Regions from separate parts of the Homo sapiens genome. Here regions 1, 2, 3, 5, 6 and 7 are each linked to region 4. The links are contacts of gene promoters, found by promoter capture Hi-C in blood cells and fetal thymus (Javierre and others, 2016). All regions are on one chromosome and are shown on one strand. Each heading gives the region's core, a stretch centred on a gene start or on the middle of the fragment in contact. The rest is flanking DNA. Distances are from core to core; before and after follow the strand shown. Region 1 overlaps ZNF283 (zinc finger protein 283). Region 2 overlaps ZNF221 (zinc finger protein 221). Region 3 has its middle 4.9 kb from the start of ZNF404. Region 4 holds the start of ZNF235 (zinc finger protein 235). Region 5 overlaps ZNF45-AS1 (ZNF45 antisense RNA 1). Region 6 overlaps ZNF404 (zinc finger protein 404). Region 7 overlaps ZNF45 (zinc finger protein 45).

Evidence for each region. Contacts are between HindIII fragments. The CHiCAGO score rates a contact against its expected background, and 5 or more counts as called.
Region 1: a contact is called between a fragment that was not itself captured here and the fragment with the promoter of ZNF235 in region 4, in 2 of 17 cell types (M2 macrophages and M1 macrophages). The highest score is 6.6, in M2 macrophages.
Region 2: a contact is called between a fragment that was not itself captured here and the fragment with the promoter of ZNF235 in region 4, in 2 of 17 cell types (non-activated CD4 T cells and M2 macrophages). The highest score is 9.5, in non-activated CD4 T cells.
Region 3: a fragment that was not itself captured here is called in contact with the fragment with the promoter of ZNF235 in region 4 in 1 of 17 cell types (M1 macrophages); the score reaches 6.1 in M1 macrophages.
Region 5: a contact is called between a fragment that was not itself captured here and the fragment with the promoter of ZNF235 in region 4, in 2 of 17 cell types (naive CD4 T cells and non-activated CD4 T cells). The highest score is 6.3, in naive CD4 T cells.
Region 6: a contact is called between a fragment that was not itself captured here and the fragment with the promoter of ZNF235 in region 4, in 8 of 17 cell types (neutrophils, activated CD4 T cells, M2 macrophages and 5 more). The highest score is 8.3, in neutrophils.
Region 7: a fragment that was not itself captured here is called in contact with the fragment with the promoter of ZNF235 in region 4 in 9 of 17 cell types (total CD4 T cells, M2 macrophages, non-activated CD4 T cells and 6 more); the score reaches 10.3 in total CD4 T cells.

Annotation. Positions count from the first base shown.
Region 1 is chr19:43,842,081-43,845,411 of GRCh38, reverse strand. All of the region lies in intron 6 of ZNF283 (zinc finger protein 283), which reads right to left. Among named protein-coding and RNA genes, the nearest start is that of ZNF283, 16 kb to the right of the region's middle. The HindIII fragment of the contact is 4,496 bases long and covers 1-3,331 here.
Region 2 is chr19:43,960,693-43,964,353 of GRCh38, reverse strand. It overlaps ZNF221 (zinc finger protein 221), which reads right to left. Exons shown (of 5, transcript NM_001297588.2): 2 at 1,547-1,629. The coding sequence starts at 1,627. Among named protein-coding and RNA genes, the nearest start is that of ZNF221, 11 kb to the right of the region's middle. The HindIII fragment of the contact is 4,158 bases long and covers 1-3,661 here.
Region 3 is chr19:43,887,250-43,890,560 of GRCh38, reverse strand. No RefSeq gene overlaps it. Among named protein-coding and RNA genes, the nearest start is that of ZNF404, 4.9 kb to the right of the region's middle. The HindIII fragment of the contact is 367 bases long and covers 1,509-1,875 here.
Region 4 is chr19:44,303,129-44,306,462 of GRCh38, reverse strand. It overlaps ZNF235 (zinc finger protein 235), which reads left to right and starts at 1,438. Exons shown (of 5, transcript NM_004234.4): 1 at 1,438-1,492; 2 at 3,011-3,073. The coding sequence starts at 3,059. RefSeq lists enhancers at 1-23, 24-525, 1,102-1,655. The HindIII fragment of the contact is 5,796 bases long and covers 1-1,871 here.
Region 5 is chr19:43,905,766-43,909,534 of GRCh38, reverse strand. All of the region lies in intron 1 of ZNF45-AS1 (ZNF45 antisense RNA 1), which reads right to left. Among named protein-coding and RNA genes, the nearest start is that of ZNF45-AS1, 5.8 kb to the right of the region's middle. The HindIII fragment of the contact is 2,882 bases long and covers 744-3,625 here.
Region 6 is chr19:43,870,022-43,873,707 of GRCh38, reverse strand. It overlaps ZNF404 (zinc finger protein 404), which reads left to right. Exons shown (of 3, transcript NM_001033719.3): 3 at 1-1,343. The coding sequence ends at 1,153. Among named protein-coding and RNA genes, the nearest start is that of ZNF404, 12 kb to the left of the region's middle. The HindIII fragment of the contact is 3,147 bases long and covers 676-3,686 here.
Region 7 is chr19:43,923,228-43,926,927 of GRCh38, reverse strand. It overlaps ZNF45 (zinc finger protein 45), which reads left to right. Exons shown (of 10, transcript NM_003425.4): 4 at 1,470-1,603; 5 at 2,367-2,526; 6 at 2,618-2,690. ZNF45-AS1 (ZNF45 antisense RNA 1) reads right to left here. Exons shown (of 3, transcript NR_184050.1): 2 at 1,674-1,786; 3 at 1-642. Among named protein-coding and RNA genes, the nearest start is that of ZNF45, 10 kb to the left of the region's middle. The HindIII fragment of the contact is 2,032 bases long and covers 1,432-3,463 here.

The sequences.
Region 1 (3,331 bases), core at 532-3,031, 460 kb after region 4:
CTTTTCCAATTCAGAATAATGAAACAGATTGTAACAGATTATGTCTTTCACATAAAATCTGCCTTTCAGGTTTCCTAAAAGGCCACTGAGCAAGCACAAAGATTTGCTCTTTCGCTTACAAAAGATACTAGAAACAATCAGGTTTCTTTGACATAATCCAGAATTTACTTAGCCCAAAACTACTATGACTGTGTTTTTGTTTATATAACCCCAGGTATATTAAAAACCAAAAGCTGACAATAAAAAGAGAAGTTTGGCCTTTCTAGGCTAATAAGTTACTTGTTATTAAAAGGTACCTGTCCCAGCAATAATGTACTTGTCAAGTTGGAGAAGATGTATATTCATATTCATGTACCCACAGGTTATGACTTTCTATAAATTAATTTTAAGAAAGATTGTGTACCTAGGTTTAAATACCCTTGTCAATTTGGAACAATCGTAATACTCTTTCATTGTCCATAATGTGTTTTGACTTCAAGGTAGTCACTTACTTTATCCTTATAAATTAATTAGGTTTTATACCTCAATAGAGGATTTAATTTTTTTCCATTATGAAGTTGTTGTTTATTATATTAAATTAACCAGAGCCATTGAGCCTTAACAACTACAAGAAGGTTTTTCCAAACTCAAATCTACTGACATTTGGGCCCAAATCATTCTTGGTTGTGCGGGGTTTTCATGTGCCTTGCCTGTTGATGACTGTATAACATTTTGGTTGAGCTATTAAATGATGGATGATTATTGTGATGTGAATGTGGGAAGTAAGTTTAATCATATATAGTTGGTCACAGGTCTAAACTGCACTATTGCTGTTTCATTTAACAATGTCTTGCTGCTTTTTATGCATTAACATTTGGGTGTAAAGATTCTGTGGATAACCAAAACAAAGCCACAGTATTTAAGCTGACCAACCTAATATTCCAACTGAATATGGAGGTGACCAATTATGAACTAAAAGGAGTACAGTTTTGTACAACATAGCATCAGTAGTTTAGCGAATTTTAATTTCTATGTAAGGCTTAGATTTTAATTTAACATTATAGATTTAGATTTAACATTTTAGTTACTTACTACTTATGTTTTATGTAAGGTTTTACAGTGTCAGTAAATAAATATGGGTTTAACTTCTTAAATGTCAAGAAAAATCATTGAGGACCCAAAAGACTTTTAGTTTATGTAGTTATATATTTTGATATTTGTCATGTTAAAAATTTAAACAGAGAAATTTTAAGATATTTACTAATTCACTTAAAATAACAATAAACCATTAACTGTTAACATAAATGATTTGTTATAAAAATAATCTTTTCTAAAACAAAACAAAAGATGTTTTAAATTTTTTCAAATCTTTTAAATGGATGGTTTAATAAAAGACACCTGGATTCTCATATCTGCTTCTGCATTCAATCTATGGCAATATGTTATTTAGGTTGAAATATATGAAGAAAATCATATATATGAAGTATATGAAGAAAATCTAGCCTCTCATGGTACATAGTTGGAAAATGGCAGAATATTTTACTAGTCCATGCAGATAACTGTGGATATTTTTCTTTGACACCACCCTAAAACTTAAGAAATGGTAGTGTCTGGCAGGTTAAGTACAATGTGGAATATAAAATCATATCTGTGAACTTTTCATACTATGTTACATTGCACTTTGAATAATCTTTTATCCATGTGTAATTTTGTAACATCATACACTGGTCATTTGGAAAATACTGATTCAAAGAGTTATGCAGATCTTTGAAATGTTGACGTAGTTCACTATACAACATCAAAAAATCACATGTTAATATTACCACCCATCTCATAAAAAATCTTAATGTATTAGGAAGCTATAAAGCTCAAAATTATGAATAAACATTTTACAAAATTCTAATTTTAACATGACAGATTGAATTATATCATTGGCAACAAATATTAGTTATTTTTGAAGTGACAGGCTCACTTGCAAGAAAATGTTTTCCTACTGCCCAAGTCTGAACAAACAAAGTTTTTCATTCTTTGGTGAAAAATATGGTGTTTTGTCAAAAAAGCAGTTGGTTTAACTCACAATTTTTTTGGGGGTGGGGACGTAGTCTCACTTTGTCACCAGGCTGGAATGCAGTGGCACGATCTTGGCTCACTGCAACCTCCGCCTCTCGGGTTCAAGCGATTCTCCTGCCTCAGCCTCCCGAGTAGCTGGGACTACAGGCGCGTGCCACCATGCTCAGCTAATTTTTGTATTTTTAGTAGAGATGGGGTTTCACCATGTTGGCCAGGATGGTCTCGATCTCTTAACCTTGTGATCTGTCCGCCTTGGCCTCCCAAAATGCTGGGATTACGGGCATCAGCCACAGAGCCTGGCCTTTAACTCACAACTTAAACAACTGTACAAGTGGTTTTCTTCAAGGCAACCATCATACTTTGGTATACAGCAGAAGACCTTAATGGATACTTCCCATTTCATTACATAGAATATTTTTTAAATGTATATATAATCAAGGGTTGAGATTTAATAAAATGAATACTGCTTCTTCAAGATGTTCTTAAGTGAAAATGGGTTTTTTCTTAACACATTTTCTTTGTGTGTGGAGGTAAAGAATATGATGATTACTAGTACTATTTGGTGCCTCTGCCTTTGCTCATGCTAAAGCAGAGAAGATTCACCATGGCTTCTACACCACCAGTGGAAGTGTCACCACAGTGAAAAAGGCAAACCTCTCAGTATTGTTATGAGAATATTTTTCACTTTGTGAAAGGTTTGGCCCACTGAAAGGTTCTTGGGAACTCCCAGGGGTCTTCAGTCCACAGTTTGAGAACCACTGCCCTACCTAGAGTAAGAATTATGTCCAGGACTAAGGATAAAACCAAACTGTACCTGCCTTCAAAAATCAACTCTTAAAAAGATCATTGTGATCTGCTATTAATTTAACTGCTTGCCTGAACAGTTTAACTATTAGGAAGATAATAAAATCCCCAAGTCACTACAACATGGCATCTACAATGGCCAGTATACAATGAGAAATTGTAAGACCGGTAAAGAAGCAGGAAAATTTGACACAAGATTTAGAGAAAATACAGTCAATAAAAGCAGACCCACAAAACCAAATGTAAATTCTATAACTATAAAATGTAGGTGGAATGAAATCTTTATTGGATAGGCTTAACAATAATTGGACACTATCAAAGAAAAAAAAAACAGTGACTTCAAGACAGGTAAATAGGTATTACCAAACTGAAGTACAAAGAGTAAAAAGACTGGGGGTTGCACCTCCGTGACTGGTGGCACCATATAAGTGGTCTAACACACATATAATTGGAGTCTTAGGAGGAGGAAAAGTACTAA
Region 2 (3,661 bases), core at 828-3,327, 340 kb after region 4:
GTCCCTTCCTAGATGTGTGGCTTTGGACAAGCTCACCTACATGCATTAGTTTCCTGTCTGTATAATGATTTTCACCTGGTATCGTTTTTTCAAGGATTAAAGAAGGAAATATATATAGCATTGGGAAAACTGTGTGGCAAAGACTAAGTATTTAATAAATATTATCTATTTTTATTATAACTGTCATTATTGTTATTTATTTCATCTCATTTCATATCTGCAAAGTATTCCAGGGCAAAAATGATCTCTTTTTATTTAAATAATGAATACTTCATATTAAATATTTTTTATTATCAATCCTGTAAAGAAAATAATTTTATATAGACTTTATTCTCCTGATTATTTAAAATAATGTCAAATGAAAATGAGAATGTCAATAAACACATTTAAAATTGTGATTACATAATTTCATACTTTCTTCCAAATTTTTTACCTACTTCCCACTCTTCCGAGTGAACACAAGTACCCTTATTCTCCTTATGATGGTTAAGAGCAGGTTGTAAATATTCCCATGGTTTCGGTAATATGATTAGGAAGAAGAATTCATTGTATTAATATCATTCTCACTTATTTGATTATAAATGAGCAGAATGGCTAACATTCCTGACCTTGGTTGCCTATGTGAATCTGAGCAGATTTCTCATATTTTATGAGTTTAAGAGGAAGATGAGACTAAAACCTGCATTCTGCTTCTCTGAGTAAATATAGTAACACAACACAAGTGATTGGCCAATCTTCCAGTATCACTGGACATTTCAAATGAAGGTACCTACTACTTTGGTAAAACTGCTTACTCCATAAAGGAATAAGAAGAGACCAATAAATAACATGCATACAAGGTATGAGTAAGGCATGGCAAACACAGAATCTAGCTCTTCCTGTGTGAAAACTCCAACAACAATATTTGTGGGAAGTAGCAGTCAGAGCCTCATGTGCTGTGCCCTGTTGAAATAATCTACCATCTATAAAACAGCCAATGTAATACATGTCAAAAGTATCCTATCTTGTTTTCAGAATTAATTTTGGGGGGAAGGGGTTATATATAGGAAAGCTGTCACAGCAGTGTTGCTTAAAACAGTAAAATTCCTAAACCACCTAAATGTCTATGAGTGTGAAGTAGTTAAAAATAAGAAGGTACATTAATTCATTGGGACTATGATACCAATATAAAAATGGAACATTATATAATATTATATAAAACGAGCACAATTTAAAATTAGAGGTATGTCATCAATAAAAATACAGTTATGAATGTACATGATGAAGAATACAAGATAAAAACAGCTAATTTGTGAGCAGAGAAGTAGTGAAGTGAAAGAATTATCCATTCCTACTATTTTATCTACTACAGAAAAGAAATTATGTAAGAAAACAAGAACTAAAACCAAACGGAAAGTCAATTCAAAAGCAGCAAAGGAAGCATCTGGCAAACAAAATGCCCTCAAATGCTTGTTGTTCTCCTTGAGTCTTCCCAAGACAGATAAAAATGTGACAATATGAGTAGTAAGATGGAATTTTAACAGCAAGAGAGGCAAGCCCTACTCACTTTGAATGTGGTCATTTTTCCTTCTACTTCAGGGAATTTGCAGAGTCCTGAATGAAGCAGTTCAAGTGAAGGTGAAATCATGCCTGGAAAGTGCCAGGAAAGGCAGAAAAACAGACAGGAAATGGTAACTAGGAATGCCGACCACCAACATAGACAAGTATTTTCAATTAGCACATGAATGTTCATAGCAGCATTACTCATAACCCCAAACTGCAAACAAGCAAAATGCCCTCCTACGGGTAAATGAATAGACAAATCATGGCATATCCATACAACAGAATTTTATTTGGAAATTCAAAGGAGTGAAGAACTGGCTCATGCTACAACATGTATGAACCTTGGAAACATTATGCTAAGTTAAAGAAGCCAGTCTAAAAACCCCATGGATTGTAAAATTCAATTTTATAAAATATCCAGAATAAGCAAATGTATATATAGAGAAAGTAGGTTAGTGGTTGCTCCAGATTTGAGGTGAGAATGAGGTTTAACTGTACATAAGCACAAGGAGTCCAATTGGGGGGCGAAAATGATCTAAACTGAATTATGATGACGGTCACACCACTGTTCAAAGTTCCTGAAGATTATTAAATCGTACGACTGAAATGGGTAAATTCTATGACATGTAAAATACACCTCAATAAAGTTGGAAATAATAACAGTTAATCTACATGTTATTTAACTGGATTGTGGGTCCATATTGATAGAATATTTATAGTTGAAGAAACTGATTAATAAATCAGGGAGAAGTGGAAGCTAATCTTTACAGGATAATGCCCACTAATAATGTATCTCCCGTAAGAAACGTTTTTATTTTCAAAATTTAATTAAAAAGTAACCTTTCAGTGGAAAAATCTGAAAGATATCATCTTGGCCAAGTGAACAAAGTTGAGATCTCCAATGAAGGGAAAAACAGACATCATTTGGCCCCTGTTATGACACTTCAACACTTCTGTGGTATCCACACCAACAATGCATAATCTGAACCTAAACATGAAATACATAAATCCCAAATGACTATCTTTCTATAAAATACTTTGCCTATATACTTCAAGGATGTCAAGAATAAAAAGACAAAGCCTGTTGAATCTTTCTAGATTAAAGAAGACTACAGAAATGTGACACCTAAAAGCAGTACATAAAATTGGACTTTGGACTGGGGGATGGGGGAAAACAGTTACAAGAACTTTAAAAAGCACAACAAATTTAAATATGGGAGTTTGGATAGAAAAGATGATGGTGTCTAGCCATATCTAATAGGTAACAGAATTAACTAATATTAATAGTCTTTTAATTGATATCTAGTATTTAATAGTGATATTACTTAATATTATATCTAATACTACCTAGCATCTTATATGAAACTCTATAGCCAGCCCTTCCTAAATGCCTCTTACCAAGACACTCCATGATCACCTTGCTATGTGGGGTTCCTTGATGCAGAAAGCTACAATAAGTTGTTTCTCATTATAAGTTTGTTCCCAGTGGTATTTGGCTGATGGGTGTTAACAAAGCAAAATACAAAATGTAAATAATTGGAAAATTTGGGTAAAGAGCATATGAAGAGGCAGGTGCTGTGGCTTGAGCCTGTAATCCCAGCTACTTGGGAGGCTGAGGCAGGAGGATAGCTTGAGTCTAGGAGTTAAAGGCTGCAGCAAGTTAGGATTGTGCTACTGTACTCCAGCCAGGGCTCTTAAAGCTCCAACATAATCCTTGACTCCATGTCCCACATCCTGGTATAAGAGATAGACTCCCAAGGCCTTGGGCAGCCAAGTGATATGACTGAGCAGTGGTCTCAGGACCACTTCTCAGAGGGCAGTGGTCCCCTTACCACAGATCCATTAGGTAGTGCCCTAGTGGGGACTCTGTGGGGAGCCCTCACATTTCTCCTTGGCACTGCCCTGGTAGAGGTTCTCTGTTGGGGCTCCCCCACTGTGGCAGGCTTCTGACTGGGATCCCAGGCTTTCTCATACATCCTTTGAAATCTAGGTAGAAGCTGCCAAGCCTCCTTCATGCTTGCATTCTGAGCATCTGCAGCCTTAACACAATGTGGAAACTACCACAACTATCAAGGCTTGAACCCTCTGGAGCTGCAACCCAGCCTGCGCCTGGGGCACT
Region 3 (3,311 bases), core at 443-2,942, 420 kb after region 4:
TATTTAGAAGTATGCCTTTTACACAGGCACATCTCATTTTATTGCATGTTGCTTTATTGCACTTTGCAAATATTGCAATTTTTACAAATTGAGATTTGTGGTAACCCTGCATTCAGCAAGTATATTGTCTCTGTTTTTCAACAGCATGTGCTCATTCTGTGTCTCTTTGTCACATTTTGTAATTCTAGCAATATTTAAAACTTTTCCATTATTTTTATGGTGATCTGTGATCAGGGTCCTTGGTGTTACTGTTGTAATTGCTTTGGGACACCGTGAGCCACACCCATATAAGACGGTGAACTGAATGAATATATGTTATGTGTCTTCTGACTGCTCCACCGACCAGCTATTCCTGTCTCTCTTCCTCTCTTTGTTTTCCTGAAACACAACAATATTGAAATCAGGCCAGTTAGTAGCCCTACAATAGCCTCTAAGTGTTCAAATGAAAGGAAGAGTCCTCTGTTTCTCACTTTTAATCAAAAGCTAGAAGTGATTAAGCTTAGTGAGGAAGGCATGTCAAAAGCCAAGACGGGCCAAAAGCTTGACCTCTTGTGCCAAACAGTTAGCCTAGTTGTGAATGCAAAGGAAAAGTTCTTGAAGGAAATGAAAAGTGCTTCTCGAGTCATATGGAGATACTGCAATACAGAGAAAGATTAGTGGTCCACATAGAAGATCAAGCCAGCCACAAAATTCCCTTAAGCCAAAGCCAGAGCAAAGACCTAACTGTCTTCAATTTTGTGAAGTCTGAGAGACATGAGGAAGCTACAGAAGAAAGGTTGGATGCTAGCAGAGGTTGGTTCATGAGGTTTAAGGAAAAAAGTCATCTCCATAACATAACAGTGCAAGGTGAAGCAGCAAATGCTGATATATACGCTGCAGCCAGTTGTCCAGAAGATCTAGCTAAGATTATTGATGAAGGTGGCTACATTAAACAAAAGATTTTCCATGTAGACAAAACAGTCTTCTGTTGGAAGAAGATACCATCTAGGACTTTCATAGCTAGAGAGAAGTCAATGCCTGGCTTCAAAGGACAGGCTGACTCTCTTATTAGAGGCTAATGCAGCTGGTGACTATAAGTTGAAGGTGATACTCATTCACTATTCTGAAAATTCTAGCGCCCTTAAGAATTGTGCTAAATCTACTCTGCCTGTGCTCTAGAAATGGGACAACAAAGCCTGAATGACAGCACATCTGTTTATGGCATGGCTTACTCAATATTTTAAACCCACTGTTGAGACCCAATGCTCAGAAAGGAAAAAAAAGACTCCTTTCAAAATATTACTGCCGATTGACGTTCCACCTGGTCATCCAGGAGCTCTGTTGGGGATGTATGGAAAAGATTAATTTTGCTTTCATGCCTACTAACACAACATCCACCCTGCAGCCCATGGATCAAGGAATAATTTCAACTTTCAAGTTTCATTTTTTAAGAAATACATTTCATAAAACTCTAGCTGCCATAGATTGTGATTTCTCTAATGGATCTAGGCAAAGTGAATTGAAAAGCTTCTGGAATGGATTTAACATTCTAGATGCCATTAAGAACACTCCTGATTCATAGAAGGAGGTCAAAATGTTTAACAGGAGTTTGGAAGAAGTTGATTCCAACCCTCACAGATAACTTTGAGGGGTTCAAGACTTGAGTAGAGGAAGTAACTGCAGATGTGGCAAAAATAGCAAGAGAACTAGAATTAGACATGGAGCCTGAAGATGTGGCTGAATTTCTGCAATCTCATGATAAAACTTTAATGGATGAGGAGCTGCTTCTTACAGATGAGCAATTAAAGTGGTTTCTTGAGATGGAATCTACTCCTGGTGAAAATGCTGTGAATGTTGTTGAAATAAAAACAAACAATTTTGAATAGTACACAAGCTTAGTTGATAAAGCAGCACCAGGGTTGGAAAAGATTGACCCCAATTTTGAAAAAAGATCCCCTGTGGGTAAAATGCTATCAAACAGCATCACATGCTACAGAGAAATCTCTTGTGAAAGGAAGAGTCAATTGATGTGGCAAACTTCATTATTGCCTTTTTTTTTTTGAGACAGAGTCTCGCTCTGTCACCCAGGCTGGAGTGCAGTGGAGCGATCTCGGCTCACTGCAACCTCTGCCTCCTGGGTTCAAGCGCTTCTTCTGCCTCAGCCTGCCGAGCGAGTAGCTGGGACTACAGGTGCGTACCACCATGCCCAGCTAATGTTTGTATTTGTAGTAGAGACAGAGTTTCACCATGTTGGCTAGAATTGTCTCGATCTCTTGACCTTGTGATCCACCCACCTCAGCTTCTCAAAATGCTGGGATTACAGGCATGAGCCACCGCACCTGGCCCATTATTGTCTTCTTTTAAGAAACTGTCATAGCCATCCCACCCTTCAGCAACCCTGATCAGTCAGCAGCCATCAACATCAAGGCAATACCTTCCACCAGCAAAAAGATTATGACTCTCTGAAGGCTCAGATGACCATTAGCATTTTTTAGCAATGAAGTATATTTAAATTAAGGTATGCACCGTATTTTTTAGGGATAATGCTATTACACACTGAATAATACAGTATAAACATATCTTTTCTATGCACTGGGAAACCAAAAAATTCATGTGATTCACTTTACTGCAATGTTCACTTTAGCATGGTGGTCTGGGGCCAAGCCTGCAATATCTCCACAGTATGTCTGTATTTGGAAACATTTGAGAACTGCCTCTTTTTGAGTTCTAAGCTAATTGTAAAGGCTCAGAAAATATACATTGTTTTATGTTAATCCTTTGTAATTTATAGATACTTACTTTATAGCCCAGAATGTTATTCTGATAAATGTGATGTAATCATTTGAACAGAATGTGTAGTCTGCAGTTTGGTATAATGTTCATTTGGTTCAATTTGGTTAATCTTCTTCACACTTTTATGGCTTTGTGGATTTTTTTTTCTTTTTTTGGTGTTCCTATTAGTAGTTACCAATAGAGAGTGTTGAAATCTCTAACTTTAAAATTTGTCTGTCCTTTAATTCTGTTGACATTTATTTTATATTTTTTGAAACTATGTTATTAGGTACATACAAATATAGGACTACTGTTGTATTCTTGCTGAATTGCAGAATATGACCCTCTTTATTACTTACAATACTTCTTGCATTAAAATCTACTTTATTTGTTATTAGTATAGCTGTGTCTGTTTTCTTCGCAATACTGCTTGATAGATTTTTTCCATTTTTTTAAACACGTGTCTTTATATTTAGAGAACGTTTCTTGTAAGCAGCCTAATTGATCCTATTTTTCTTTTTAACCTAATCTTATAATATTAGTTTTGAATTGCAATGGTT
Region 4 (3,334 bases), core at 189-2,688:
ACACACAAACAGCTGGCTGTCGAGAGGCTGTCGAGGGGAGCGGGTCGGCAAAAGAGCACACTGAAGAGACCGGCAGGCCAGCAGGCCATTAACCGGTGGAATAACGCAGTTTGGCCTGGGTAGTCGGAGGAGCGCCCAGGCCGCTGAGAGGCTGACTCCAGGCGAAAACCATCTCCCTTCTGGCTCCCCCTTCTGCTGAGAGCTACTTACAAATCGTTCTCCAAGGTTTCTCCAATCCTTGCACTCTTTCTCCAAGCCTATGTGTGATGCGATTCTTCTGGTACACCAAGGCAAGAACCTCTGGGATACAGAAAGCCCTCTCTTGCTTGCGATAAGTCAGGGGTCTAATTGAGCTAACACAAGCCTCCTACAGATGGCTGAACTAAAAAAGCACCCTATAACACACGCCCACTGGGGCTTCAGGAGCTGTAAACATTCACCCCTAGACACTGCCGTGGGGTTGGAGCCCTACAACCTGCCCGTGTGCATGCTCCCCTAGAGGTTTGAGCGGCTGGGCACGAAGAAGCGAGCCACACCCCATCACATGCCCTGGGAGAGGGAGAAGTGAACTTTTCCCGTTTCATCACAATTTACTTTCGGCACTAACATGATTGTTCAGCTGTCTTCATCAGCAGGCCTTTATTCCAGGAGATTCCTGCCCAAGCAAACTGTTTAATTGTTCATTATGGGAACTTCCACAGAGACCCATCAAATTTTCAATCTCTTCCAAAGAAAGTGTCAATAGATTGCAATTTAAGATTCTTTGCTTCAAAAATCCTTGCTATATCCACCAATCCTGGACTGTAGTATCATGATCATTATGCAATACTAATAAAATCCCTTGCATTGAAAGACCCGCCTTAAACATCCAGTTCTCAATCAGTTCCAACCTTGCCTTGACACTTTGCTCTGTGAAGGTGCCAACGCTCCGTCGAAGTGTTGTTCTCCATTACTGCAATCAACAATAAATTCTGTTTTTTGTCTTATCAACAGGTTGAGTTGATGATATTTGGGGAGCCGGCATTTGACACAAGTTTGAGATCTGGTGTTCCTTAACGTTCAGCGTCCATCGGAGCTCAGCCTAAGTCACTTTTACGCTTCCCATTTTAGCCTACCCTCTGCTTCTGCGAAAAATTTTGGTTTCTAACTTATTTTAATAATACAAGCTGCACTTTTCATTTTTATATGTCATCACTTTAAAAATTTTACAATTATTTTCTCATGAGCTTTTAAAAATGAATAAAACAAAAACGAATCTCACAGTAGTAGCACCAGAGAAGTGGCTCAAACCCAACCGGCTTGAGTCAAAACAAAGCCCAGCTGGTGGGAAGCGCTGCCCTTGGAGCATTCTGGGAACTGTAGTCCAGGAGTGAGAGAACTCTGAGACGCTTCCGCTTAGGAATTCTGGGAAGTGGAGTCCACGAACCGTGGGCACTCGGAGGCACTTCCGCTCCAGGAAGGCGAGGTCGGATCTGAGATATCTCCCAGGGAGGTGAGTCAGCTCCGGGTCTCCAAGACTTCTCCGAGCCCTCTTTGCCTAGGCGTGGGGCCAGCAATGAACCCGTCCTTGGCTTGGGGAAGAGAAGCCGCGGCCAGCGCTGGAGGGCGGGGTTGGGAGGCTGCGGGAGTTTGCGTCCCCTCGGCAGAACCTCTTGCGTGGGAGGCGGGCTCGCGTCGTCCTTCGAGGTTGAGGGTCTGCTGCCCTAGCCGTCCTCACGCACCTACCAGCCAGTCCTGCCTGCTCCTCGCAGTAAAATATTGGGCAAGTTACTTAATCTCTCCTTGTCTCAGTTTCCTCGTGCCTGTAAAGGGTTAGTGCGTTCCCAGTGATGTTCTTGTGAGAATTAAATGAGGTTTTATAGAAATAAGCTTAAAACCAGTGCATAGGAAAATGTTGGATGCCACCGTTAATTCTGTTATAATACTGAAAAAGACGCCTGTTGTTTGGAAACTCCTCTGAGTCTAGGAGATCCAGCTACGGAGCCGCTGTCCCTTCTCTAATCCTTGCCTGATGTGGGGCCGTTCCTGGATTCTTGGACTTTTCTAGCCTCTTGTTTAGGAGACAGGAATTAGTTCCAGCGGAGCCTGGGGAATGTCCTGTGTGTTTTATCTCAGATAAGCGATCGTCATTACGGATTTGCAGAGTGCCAGAGGTGTCCTGAGGCCCTAATAAATGTTCAGTATAATGTGGTTATAACCAATAATCCCGTGTGGTTAACTTAAGTGTAACACCATTTCTTAGAGAGTTTTAGGTTTTTATTAGTCATTGCTTTCATGCATGTGGAAAAAGAGACTTTCTTGAGGCTCCTCCAGCTTAGTAACATTTGCAAGTAATTACATCTGTTGGAGGAAAAAAAAACCTGTGGCAGTTTAACTATCATTACCAACGGAACTAATTATGTTAGACAACCAATCACAGTTACAGACTTTTCTGAGGGTAATGGTAACTCACAGGACAGAGCAATTATTTTTGAGTTCTGGGTTTCTTAAAAGATTCATTTTCTAGAAAGCATACTCAAAAGGGCAGTTTTATGAAGCATAATAGCACTTGCTTGTCAGAAGCTGCAGGAAATAGAGAATACAGGCATTATTATTGTCCCCATTCACAGGTAACTGAATTAAGGCACAGAGAGATTAATAATTCGCTTAAGGTTTATACTGCTGATCAGTTGAAAATAGGTAGAAATGCCAAAATTTGAAGCCAGGCATTTTGGCTCTGTTACATTCCCCTGCCTGTCTGTGTCTCATTTCCTTGGAAACTAAAGTTCAGAAGGAGTACACAGAGAGCTGTATTTGATTTAGGTCTGTTAATATGAAATGTTCATGAACAAAAGCAGCTGGTTGAGGGGGCCGAGGGGTAGCTGGGAGCTAGCTCCCGTTCTCCTCACTAAGCCGTGTGCAACTGTGTCTGCCTAGAGACAGGGGGACCTTTCTCTGAAGTGTCACATAAAAGTGCCATGGTGACTAATGCCATCCCTAACCTATCTCATGATGCCTTTCCCTCCCTCAGGTTCACTTCCCCGGAACTCTGCCTTTTCCCAGAAGGAGGAGGGGAAAAATGACCAAGTTCCAGGTAAGTTTGGTTTGCCTTTGTGTTTCTTAAAATGACATCTCATTTCACAAAGATTGGACACATTTTTCCTGTTTGGGAACAGTAAAAGGGAACGAAAGGCACTTGGAATGTTGTTATATGCCAGGTTGTTGCCTTTTATTTCAATATAATAGTATAAAAATTAACAGAGAGATATATATATATCTGTTAATTTCTAAAATATATTTCTATATAATTATATATTTATATATACGTATATATTTTATATTTATATACAAATAT
Region 5 (3,769 bases), core at 935-3,434, 400 kb after region 4:
GTACTTTCAATGGCTTTATATAATATCAATCGTTGACAGAGGGCAGGAAAGGTGGGACTGTGAAGGAAAAATTCAGAGGAAGAACCTGATGAGGTTGAGGGTGCCTGGGGAAGTAAAGGAGCTGGAGGGTGACCAGAGAGGATGGCGACTGGTTAGTAGTATGGATATCACATACCTCCAAGAGTGTGGAAATCAGTTGTACGAGTGGTTACCCAGGTTGGGACGCCTGCTGGCAGGCCCAGCATTGTTGGAGTTTTATCTCTTGGATGACATGTTCTGTTACTGTTTCACATGTATTATCTGGCAAGTTGAAGAAAGTAGGATGTGGTGTCATGATGAAGGAATAGTGCAGAGTGAAGCATGGATTGTTGGACAATGGGACTGGCGCTGATGTGGTTGTGGAGGTCACTGTGGAGACCACAGAGGGGTAGTTATCATGTCCAGGTCCCAACTGTTAAGCATGAAGGGAAGTATAGTTTTAAAGGCTTTTGTGTAGGGGTCATTTCACCCAAAGGATGAAATTAAGTGGTGTGGCACCAATGGGTGTAAGTTGGCTAGTTTGTAGGGCATTGGCTTACACCAAAAGGGCATCACATGAGGAGCCAATAGAATGGGACAAGGACAAATCTAATCTGCAGTTCCTTGATGCAGAAGAGTAGGTCATTGGCAATGGTAGGTCCCTGTGTGCCGTCATTCATCAGAGTTTGGATATACCTAGATAAGTAAGGGCCTGCCAGTAAGCTTTAGCTTCTTGCAGAGTGTGATTACATTGTGCAGGACAGGAGAATACACAGCTGTAGACAGCTATATAGCAGGCAATGTGGGAGCTTCAGTTAAGTGTGAGGTTTTATGTTAATCTGGCTAGGTGTTGGGCTGTGTTTAATGTTTGATTTAGCTGAAGGTGTCAGAGGTTTCAGTTTTACCTTTCTGTAGTGTCCCTTCTTTTTCCTTCCCTGTTGTCTTTGAATTTCCCTAAGAACTTTAAAAATAGAATCTGTGTCTTGCAGCCTTCTCACTTTTATTATCCTGTTGTTATACAAGAATCCTATTGATATGGTGGTAAAGTGTGGGGAGAGGGGAAGTGTTCTACAATCATATGATTTAATCTGTCTTTTAGTGGGCCTGAGTCCCTGGCCTGTGATCTTCAGACGCAGTTCTTAGTCTTTCTGTTTTCCCCTTAGGTAAGACAGGAAGGCGAGTTGACATATTGCCTTTCTCCCCAGTTATATAAGTATCTGATAAAGTCATTTCCCTTGGATAGCAGTCCTTTGTTATGTGGAACACTCTCAGTGTATTTCAAAATAGTTACTTTTGTCCTCCTCCAAAACATGAGATTTTTCTTGTAAATTCACCATGAGAACCTAGTAGCATTACTGGACGTAAATTCCATGAAAGTGTGAGGCTCCCCCTAAGACTGCGTCCCTGGAAGATTTTTGAAGCTAGCCTCCAATGAATTCTCTAAATTACCAATTAAGCGCTCCTACCAATAGCATTGCTAATTACTTGTTATCAACTAATTGGTAACACTTAGTTACCAACACTTAGTTACCAATTAGCTGGTAATACTTAATTACACTGCTAGTAAATATTACCAATTAGCTGGTAATACTTAATTAGCAGTGTTATTGGTAACACTTAGTTACCAATATTCTTTCCCCGCCTAAATGGTCTTACCTTGGTCCTTCTGCTCCAAGTAAGCTGATCTCCGTTTGCTTGTCTCTCCAGATTTAAGGCTGGTGGTTTGCCTTGTGACCTCTATTATCTGACAGATCCAGAAAAAATTAATTTCTTTAGTTTTTTTTGTTGTTGTTGTTGTTGTGAGGATGGGAGTGATCATCCCAGAAATCTGACTGACTTCCAGAAATTGGATTATCCATTTTTTTTTTATTGTTGAGTTCTAAGAGTTTTTGTATTCTAGATACAAGTCCATTGTCATATGTATGATGGGCAAATATTGTCTCCCATTCAGTGGGTATCTTGTCACTTTCTTGATGGTATCATTTGCAGTAAAAAGTTTGAATTTTGATATACTCCTATTTATTGTTTTGCTTATGCTTTTGGTGTATCCAAAATATCATTGCCTATTCCAAGCTCATGAAGATTTGCCCCTGTGTTGTCTTTGAAGAGTTTTATAGTGTTAGCTCCTATAGGATTTAGGTCAGTGATGTGAGTTAATTTTTGTGTATGGTATAAAGTAGAATTCCAACTTCATTCTTTCTTTGCAGACAGATATCCAGTTGTCTTACCATAATTTGTTGAGAAGACTATTCTTTCCCCTACTAAATGGCCGTAGCACCCTTATTGAAAATGAATCGACAGTGTCAAGACTTACTTCTGGACTTTTAAATCTATTCCACTCATCTCTATGTCTACCCTTGTGCCAGTACCACACTGTAGTTTTCCAGTAACTTTTGAAATTGGGAAATGCGAGTCCTCCAACTTTGTTCTTCCTTTCTAAAGTTGTTTTGGTTATTTTGGGTCCCTTGTGTCTCCATATGAATTTAGGATCAGCTGGTCAATTTCTAGAGGCAGTGGGGTTGGGAGGGGGGAGCCAGCTAGGATATTGTTAAGGACTGCATTGAATCCATAGGTCAATTTGGGAGGTATTGGCATCTTAACAATATTAACTTTTCTTATCCATGAACCACAGATGTCTTTCCTTTTATTTAGGTCGTCTTTAATTTCTTTCAATGATGTTTTATAATTTTCAGTGTACAAACTTTCCTCTTCATTTGTTAACTTTATTCCTTAAGTATTTTCTTCAAATTCTGTTGTAAATGGAATTGTTTTCCTACTTTCATTTTTTGATTATTCATTGCTAGTGTGTAAGAACACAATTTTTTTGCATATTGATCTTCCTGTAACTTTGCTGAACTCATTTACTAGTCTTATTAGTTTTTTGTGATTTCCTTAGGACTTTATGTATATAAAATCATATCTGCAAATATAGCTTTACTTCTTCATTGTACTTCTTCATTTCCATATGGATGTCTCTTATTTCATTTATTTGCCTAGTTGCCCTGGCTAGAACCTCCAGCATGTATCAAATAGAAGTGGTGAGAGTTGGCTGGGCGTGGTGGCTCATGCCTGTAATTCCAGCACTTTGAGAGACTGAGGCAGGGAGATCACTTGAGGTCAGGAGTTCAAGACCAGCCTGGGCAACATGGTGAAACCCCATCTCTACTAAAAATACAAAAATTAGACGGGCGTGGTGGTAGGTGCCTTTAATTCCAGCTACTAGGAGGCTGAGGCAGGGGAATCCCTTGAACACGGAAGGCGGAGGTTGCCGTGAGCTGAGATCGCGCCACTGTACTCCAGCCTGGGCAACAGGGCAAGACTCCTGTCTCAAAAAAAAAAAAAAAAAAAAAAAGTGGTGAGAGTGCACATCTTTGTCTTGTCCCTGATCTTAGAAAGTACTCTGTCTTTCACCATTAAGTATGATATTGGCTGTGGGTGTTTTATAGGTGGTATGTTGAAGAAGTTCCCTTCCATTTCTAATTTGTTGAATGTGTTTTTTATCATGAACAGGTGTGCACATTTCATGGATTTCTCTCTTTTTTTTGTTTCCTTCTGCCTACTTTGGGTTTCAGATGTTCTTTTTTTCTTGTTTCTTAAGGTAAAAGCTTAGGTCACTATATTAGTCTGTTCTCACACTGCTATAAAGAAATCCCTAAGACTGAGTAATTTATAAAGAAAAGAGGTTTAGTTGCTCACAGTGCTGCAGGCTGTACAGGAAACACAGTGGCTTCTGCTTCTGGGGAGGTCTCAA
Region 6 (3,686 bases), core at 1,000-3,499, 430 kb after region 4:
AGTTTTCCAGCATTTTATTAGACATCGAAAAATCCACACTGATTTGAAACCCTATGAATGCAATGGATGTGAGAAGGCCTTTAGGTTTTATTCACAGCTTATTCAGCATCAGATAATTCATACTGGTATGAAACCCTATGAATGTAAGCAATGCGGGAAGGCTTTTAGACGTCATTCTCACCTTACAGAACATCAGAAAATTCATGTTGGCTTGAAACCCTTTGAATGTAAGGAATGTGGGGAAACGTTTAGATTATATCGACATATGTGTCTGCATCAGAAAATTCATCATGGTGTGAAACCCTACAAATGTAAAGAATGTGGAAAGGCTTTTGGTCATCGTTCAAGTCTTTACCAACATAAGAAAATTCATTCTGGTGAGAAACCATATAAATGTGAACAATGTGAAAAGGCCTTTGTTCGCAGCTATCTACTTGTTGAACATCAAAGAAGTCATACTGGTGAGAAACCTCATGAATGCATGGAATGTGGAAAGGCTTTTGGTAAGGGCTCAAGCCTTCTTAAACATAAGAGAATTCATAGTAGTGAGAAACTCTATGATTGTAAGGATTGTGGAAAGGCCTTTTGTAGAGGCTCTCAACTTACACAGCATCAGAGAATTCATACTGGTGAGAAGCCACATGAATGTAAAGAATGTGGGAAGACTTTTAAGCTTCATTCATATCTTATTCAACATCAGATAATTCATACTGATTTGAAGCCATATGAATGTAAGCAATGTGGGAAAGCCTTCAGTCGTGTTGGAGACCTTAAGACACATCAATCAATTCATGCTGGGGAGAAACCCTATGAATGTAAGGAATGTGGAAAAACCTTTAGACTTAATTCTCAACTAATTTATCATCAGACAATTCATACTGGTTTGAAACCCTATGTATGTAAAGAATGTAAGAAGGCCTTTCGTTCTATCTCAGGTCTTTCTCAACATAAGAGAATTCATACTGGTGAAAAACCCTATGAATGTAAAGAATGTGATAAGGCCTTTAATCGCAGTGATCGACTTACTCAACATGAGACAATTCATACTGGTGTGAAACCACAGAAATGCAAAGAATGTGGTAAGGCCTTTAGTCATTGCTATCAACTTAGTCAACATCAAAGATTTCACCATGGTGAGAGACTCTTAATGTAATGAGAGGGAAAGCCTTTAGCCATGGCACATTTTTACTGTTGTCACTATTATGATGCTATAGTGAAGATTAAACTAGTTAATATAGAATATAAATACTTGGAAAGGCATCTGGCACATCGTATTTGCTTACTAAATACATTATTTTTATGATAATTGTTAGAATTACTAAAAATAAATCTTATAGAAGGAAGACCCTATGAGTGTGATATTTTGAAAATGCTCTATCATCACTTCATATAATTTATTCTGGACAAAATCCTGTAGAATATATTAAATGAGAAATTTTTAAATTCAGAATTCATACCCCTGAAGATTAATGCTGGAATAAATAATGTGTATTTATTGAATAATGAAAGGATAGCTGTTGAAAATTAGAGAGTGGTTTAAAGAAATTTTTTCACAAATCCTATAATACAGATAACACATATTTTGCATCCTCTACAATTAAAATAAATTAGAAATGAACAGTTAGGTAGCCAAAAGACAGATATTAACTTGGAAAAGTTTTCCCTAAGTTTATGAAAATGTTAAGATTTACATCCTTACAGAAAAGGTAGCTGTTTACAGTGGTGCAGTGAAGGCTTGTTTGCCCTTCACCTAGTTTCAGTACATCTGATGTCTCTCTTTTTTATGTGTATACTAACACATATATACACACAAATACATATATACCATGCATGTCTTATGTCTATGTATATACACAGATGCATATATATATATATCATACTTATTACACATGAATATATGTATATATTACATATATCACTTTTCCTGTTTTTTGAGTGAATGTTTTAGGTATCATTCACCTCTAAAAAAAAGGCAACATACAACTGCTAGGATCAAAGATAATCTTCTAGATGTCTACTACACCATTGTCACAAAAAAATTAACAGTAACCCTATAATGTCTTAAAATATTCACTCCATTTGCAAATTTCTCCAATTTTTAAAATAATGTCTTTTAGCACTGTCTTTTTCACAAGCCAAGAACCAAACTAATCTCATATATTTTATATGATTATGGCTTATTAAGTCTCTTTTAGTCAAGAGCCTACCCTTCATCATTTTGTGACATAGACTTTTTGAAGACTTTAGATTTGACCTAAATAGTGTTGCACATGCTGTGTTTGTCTTATTGTTTCTGGAGGTGTGATTAACTTGTTTCTTTGTCCTCTATATTTACTGTGACCTGGAGGTTATGATTAGAGGCTTGATTGGGTTTCAGATTAAACATTTTCAAAAGACTACTTCATAGATAGTATCATGTACTTAATATTGTAAAGTATCAGGTGGCCTACAAGTGAAACTATGTTTTATCCCTTGATTCATGTATTGACCACCAGCTCCTTCCATTGTTATGGGTGAATTTTTTCTTTGCAATTAAATAAGTAATCCATGGAAAGTCATGTTGGAAATTTGAACAGTCTTCTGTATTCTATTTTTAGAGATGGGGTATTGCTATGTTGCCCAGGCTGGAATTCAGTGGCTATTCACAGATGTTATATAGCACACTACAGCCTTGAACTCCTGAGCTCAGGCAATCCTCCTGCCTCAACCTCTGGAGTAGCTGGGACTATAGGCACACAGTGCTACACCCAGTTGCTTAAAGAAATTAAGATGAAAATCCTCATCTTTTATATTTACCCATATATTTACTATTTCCCATGCTGTTTATTTCTTTCCAGAGATCTGAATTTTTCTCTGGTATCATTTCCCTACAGTTTGAGGAACTTAACTTAGCATTTCTTGGAGTGAACGTCTGCTGGTGATGAATTTTCATAGTTTCTTTTACTGAAATGCCTTTATTTTTTAAGGATTTCTTCTGGCTATAGAATTCTGGGTTGGCAGTTTTTTGGAGATATATGAATATATGTGTGTGTATATGCACACACACAAAGAATACACACACATATATATACTCATAAAGAGATATATATTGTTTCATATATGTATATATAAATCACCGACTTCTGGTCTTCAAGTCTCCATAGTTTACAAGAAGAAGTCATTTGAATTGTTTTTTCTCTTATGTAATGTGTCCTTTTTCTCTGGGTGCTTTCCAGATTTTCTTATTACTTTTGGTTTTCAGCTGTTTGAGTATGAGGTGCCTAGGTATGGTTTTCTTTGTGTTAATTCTGCTTGGGGTACTCTGAGCCTCTGAAATTTGCACACATGTGCCTTTCACCAAATTCCAGAAATTCTTGGCCATTATATCTTCAAATATTTTTTCTGCATTTACTCTACTCATACGTTAAATCTTTTGGTACTGTCCCACAGGTCACTGTCTTTGTTATTTATCTTCAGTATTTTTTTTCTGTTCTTCAGCTTGGACAACTTCTGTTACTCTGTTTTCAAATTCACTTATTCTTTTTCTCTGTCATTTCAGTTCTGCTGCTAAGCCTATCTATCAAATTGTTTAATTTCAGATATTACATTTTTCAGTTCTAGAATTTTCCTTTAGTACTTTTATAGTTCCTATTTCTTTACTAAGATTGCCTATTTCTTCATTGCATGCATCTTTTCACAAGGCTTTT
Region 7 (3,700 bases), core at 1,198-3,697, 380 kb after region 4:
GTGTTCTCCTGCTGACTTGCAGATAATTTTGTGACTTGAACGTCATCATGGTTTGAATTCTGCCTTCCTGCCCATCTCTTTCTGCCTGTTATTTGTCTTCACATCATGACATTTGTTCTCTGGGAGTTTTATAGTGATTTGGATTCTCTGGCTAATAGAGCTCAGTCACCCTCCAGGGCTCAGATTAAGCTACGTTTGTGTAGAACCCCTGCATTCCACTGTGGGCTTATGAGCCCATTCCTCATGCCGCTAAAGGATGCTGTGCACTACTCTGGCATTTAGCCATGTATAGTGGAATTGCCAGCTTCCTCATCACTAGACTGTGAGCATCTTGAGGCTGGGGAATTGCATCTCTTTTAGTAAGGTTCCCACAAGTCTTCACTGAGTTAATAAACTCATCTATTTAATGAAGTAGTAATAAATTCACCTGTCTAGTGCTAATTATGCAGGCAGTAAAATAGTGTTCATTCTCAGTATTTTAAGGGACACATTCTGTGGGTTCTGTAACAGTGACTCATGTCGTCGCTGACTTTGAAGAGCAGAGAGTACTTTCCTAAGATGGTATTTAACAAAATCCAGAGATGCTTTTCCTTCCAAAGATGACTCTGATCTTGCCCAAGGACAGCAAATATGGTGAAAGACCTAGAGGAAAAATTTGGAAATAAAACCCTTGCTCTCCAAATCTTCCCAACTGGAGTCAGTCTCAGGGAGACTTAGACCAACTAGTCTAGTCTTCCTATATGCCTCTCCATGTCTGATGGTGGGTTCAGTCATTTCTGCTGGGCAATTACTTTGTACAGGAACTGTTTTAGGTACTTGGGATATAAAGCTGAATAAACATTCATCACAAGACAGATGGTTGATTTGCTATTATCTCTTTTTTTTCCCGAGGCGATGGAAATATATCCCCTGCAAAACATTCTTACTGAGCAGAGGTTGCTGGGCAAATATAGAGTTAGAACAAAGTGAATTACAAATTCTAAAAGAGTATTTCAGGCTGGGTGTGGTGGCTTACGCCTATAATCCCAGCACTTTGGGAGGCCAAGGCGGGTGGATCACTTGAGGTCAGGAGGTCGAGACCAGCCTGGCCAAAATAGTGAAACCTCATCTGTACTAAAAAAACAAAAGAAACAAAAAAAATTAGCCAGGAATGGTGGCGGGTGCCCATAATCCAGCTACTGGGGAGGCTGAGGCAGGATAATCTTTTGAACCCGGAAGGCTGAGGTTGCAGTAAGCTGAGATCATTCCACTGCACTCCAGCCTGGGCCACAGCGCAAGACTCCATTTCAGAAAAATAAATAAATAAGTATTTCTTCTAAGATTGGAAGGTTTTATGTTTCCCTTTTCAATAGTAAGGGTTCTTCTATCTGAAGTAAGAGAACTAAGAATAATTTACTAATAAATCAAGCAGTAATTAACTAATACTAAGCTTTTAATCTGGGTATTTTACTCGTTTCCACCCTCCATAGAATCAGAATCATACCCTGAGAGCTACAAGAACTCCATTTTTCACTGTGCAGAGGCTCTCTGCTGAAGGGTCAAGTGGAATCTGGAATCCAGCCCATGTTTCCCCATCATCAAGCCATGTGAAGCTGCAGACTCCGTGAGTGCCTTAGTCCATTTGTGCTGCTATAACAAACAATACCATAGGCTGGGTGGCTTAAACAACAAACCTTTATAACTCACAGTCCTGGAGACTGGGAAGTCCATGATCAAGTCACTGGCAAATCCAATGTCTAATGAGGCCACTCTTACTGGTTCGCAGAAGCTGTTGTCTTGTATCTTCCTGGGAGGAAGAGAGAAAGAGCTAGGTTACTTGCTTTTCTTACAAGGAAAGCAATCCCATTATGGAGGCTTCACCCTCATGACCTAATTACCTCCTAAAGGCCCCACCTCCCAATAACATCACATTAGGGCTTCAACATAAGAATTTTGAGGGGACACAGACATTGGTCCACAGCAGCAAGGGAGGGGCTCCCTGACTGTTTCATGTAAAGCATCTGCATGGGTTTATGTGTAACTTCTATTGATTGTTTAAGCTGCCAGAAACTGTTCCACATGTTTTGTGTATACTTAGTCACTTTCACTGACCTTCCTATGAAGTAGGTATTATTATTACATCCAGTTTATAGATTAGACATTAGAGCACAAAGTACTAGCAAGTTGGACATGCCTGTATTCCAGTACTGGTGGGCTGGTTCTGGAGTCTAGACTGTTCACAACTCTGTTCTCTACTCCCTCAAGCAGCTCCCTTGGCTTCAGAGTCCAATCTCCATTTCTGTGTCTGTCTTTTACCCCTAACTCTGGAGCCCTCATTTCTCCTTCCATGAGATCTTAGACTCCCATCTGCTTATTTTTGTCTTTAGAAGCAACAGAGAGACAAGATTTAGAATACTGGCTCTGGTATGAAAGCTGGATTCAGGTACTGTTCCTGCCTCTTGACCTCACCAAGCCTCAGCTTCCTCGCCTGTTAAATGGATACAATTGTCGTCATTATCATCTGTTGAGAACTCCCTAAAATGCCAGGTACTATGCCAAGGGCATTGCATAAATTCACTCATTGATTCCTCACAGTAATCCTATGATTAACATCCTGTTTTCATTTCCCTTCTTATAGCTGAGCATAGGCACAGAAGTTTAGGTGTTTGGACCAAGGTCACACAACTGATACAACAGTAGCTTCTTCACAGGTATGTGTGAAGTACCTTAATGAAACATCATGTGCCAAGTTCTTCATAAGGTCCCTAATATGTATTTAGTTAAATATCACCATTTTTGTTGTTATTATTGTGCTTCCTATAGCTTGTTAATTTCAGTGACATTATCTAATTTATAGTTGCATAAATCTTGCAGAGTCATGATTTTTTATTAAATTTTCTCTGTCTCTATGATAGTCTTTTTAAGGCCCTACTGTTAAAGTAAATTTTGCAAGGTCTTTTTTTTTTTTTTTAGATTTTTTTTTTTTCTCTTTAGAGATCACTCTGTTGGCCAGGTTGGTCTTGAACTCTTGGCCTCAAGCAGTCCTCCCACTTTGGCCTCCCAGAGTGCTAGGATTACAGGCATGAGCCACTCTACACAGCCAAATTTTGCAAGGTCTTATACCTTTTAGAAACCAGTCCATATAGTCAAATTCATAGAGATAACGTGGTTATCAGGGGCTGGGAGGGGGAATGGGGAATTATTACTTAATGGGTACATAAAAAATTCTGATGATGGATAGTGGTGATGGCTGCACAACAATGTAAATGTACTTACTGAATGTAACCACTTAAAAAATGGTTAAAATGGTAAATTTTATGTTACATATTTTACTATCAAAAAAAGCAGTCATCTATGTACAGTAGTCCCCCCTTATCCACAGCAGATACCTTCCAAGTCCCCCAGTGAATGACTTAAACCTCAGATATTACTGAACCCTAAATATACTATGTTTTTCCTTTACCTACATACTTATGATAAAGCTTAATTTATAAATTAGGCACAGTAAGAGACTAACAACAATAACTTATAATAAAATAGAATAATGATAAAATACTGTAACAAAAGTTCTATAAACATGGTCTCTCTCTCTCTCTCAGAATATCTTACTGCACTGTACTCACCTATTTTTGGGCCATAGTTGACTTCAGGTAACTGAAACCACAGAAAGCAAAACTATGGATAGGAAGGACCACTGTAATCTTAAATACTATTGCAAAAG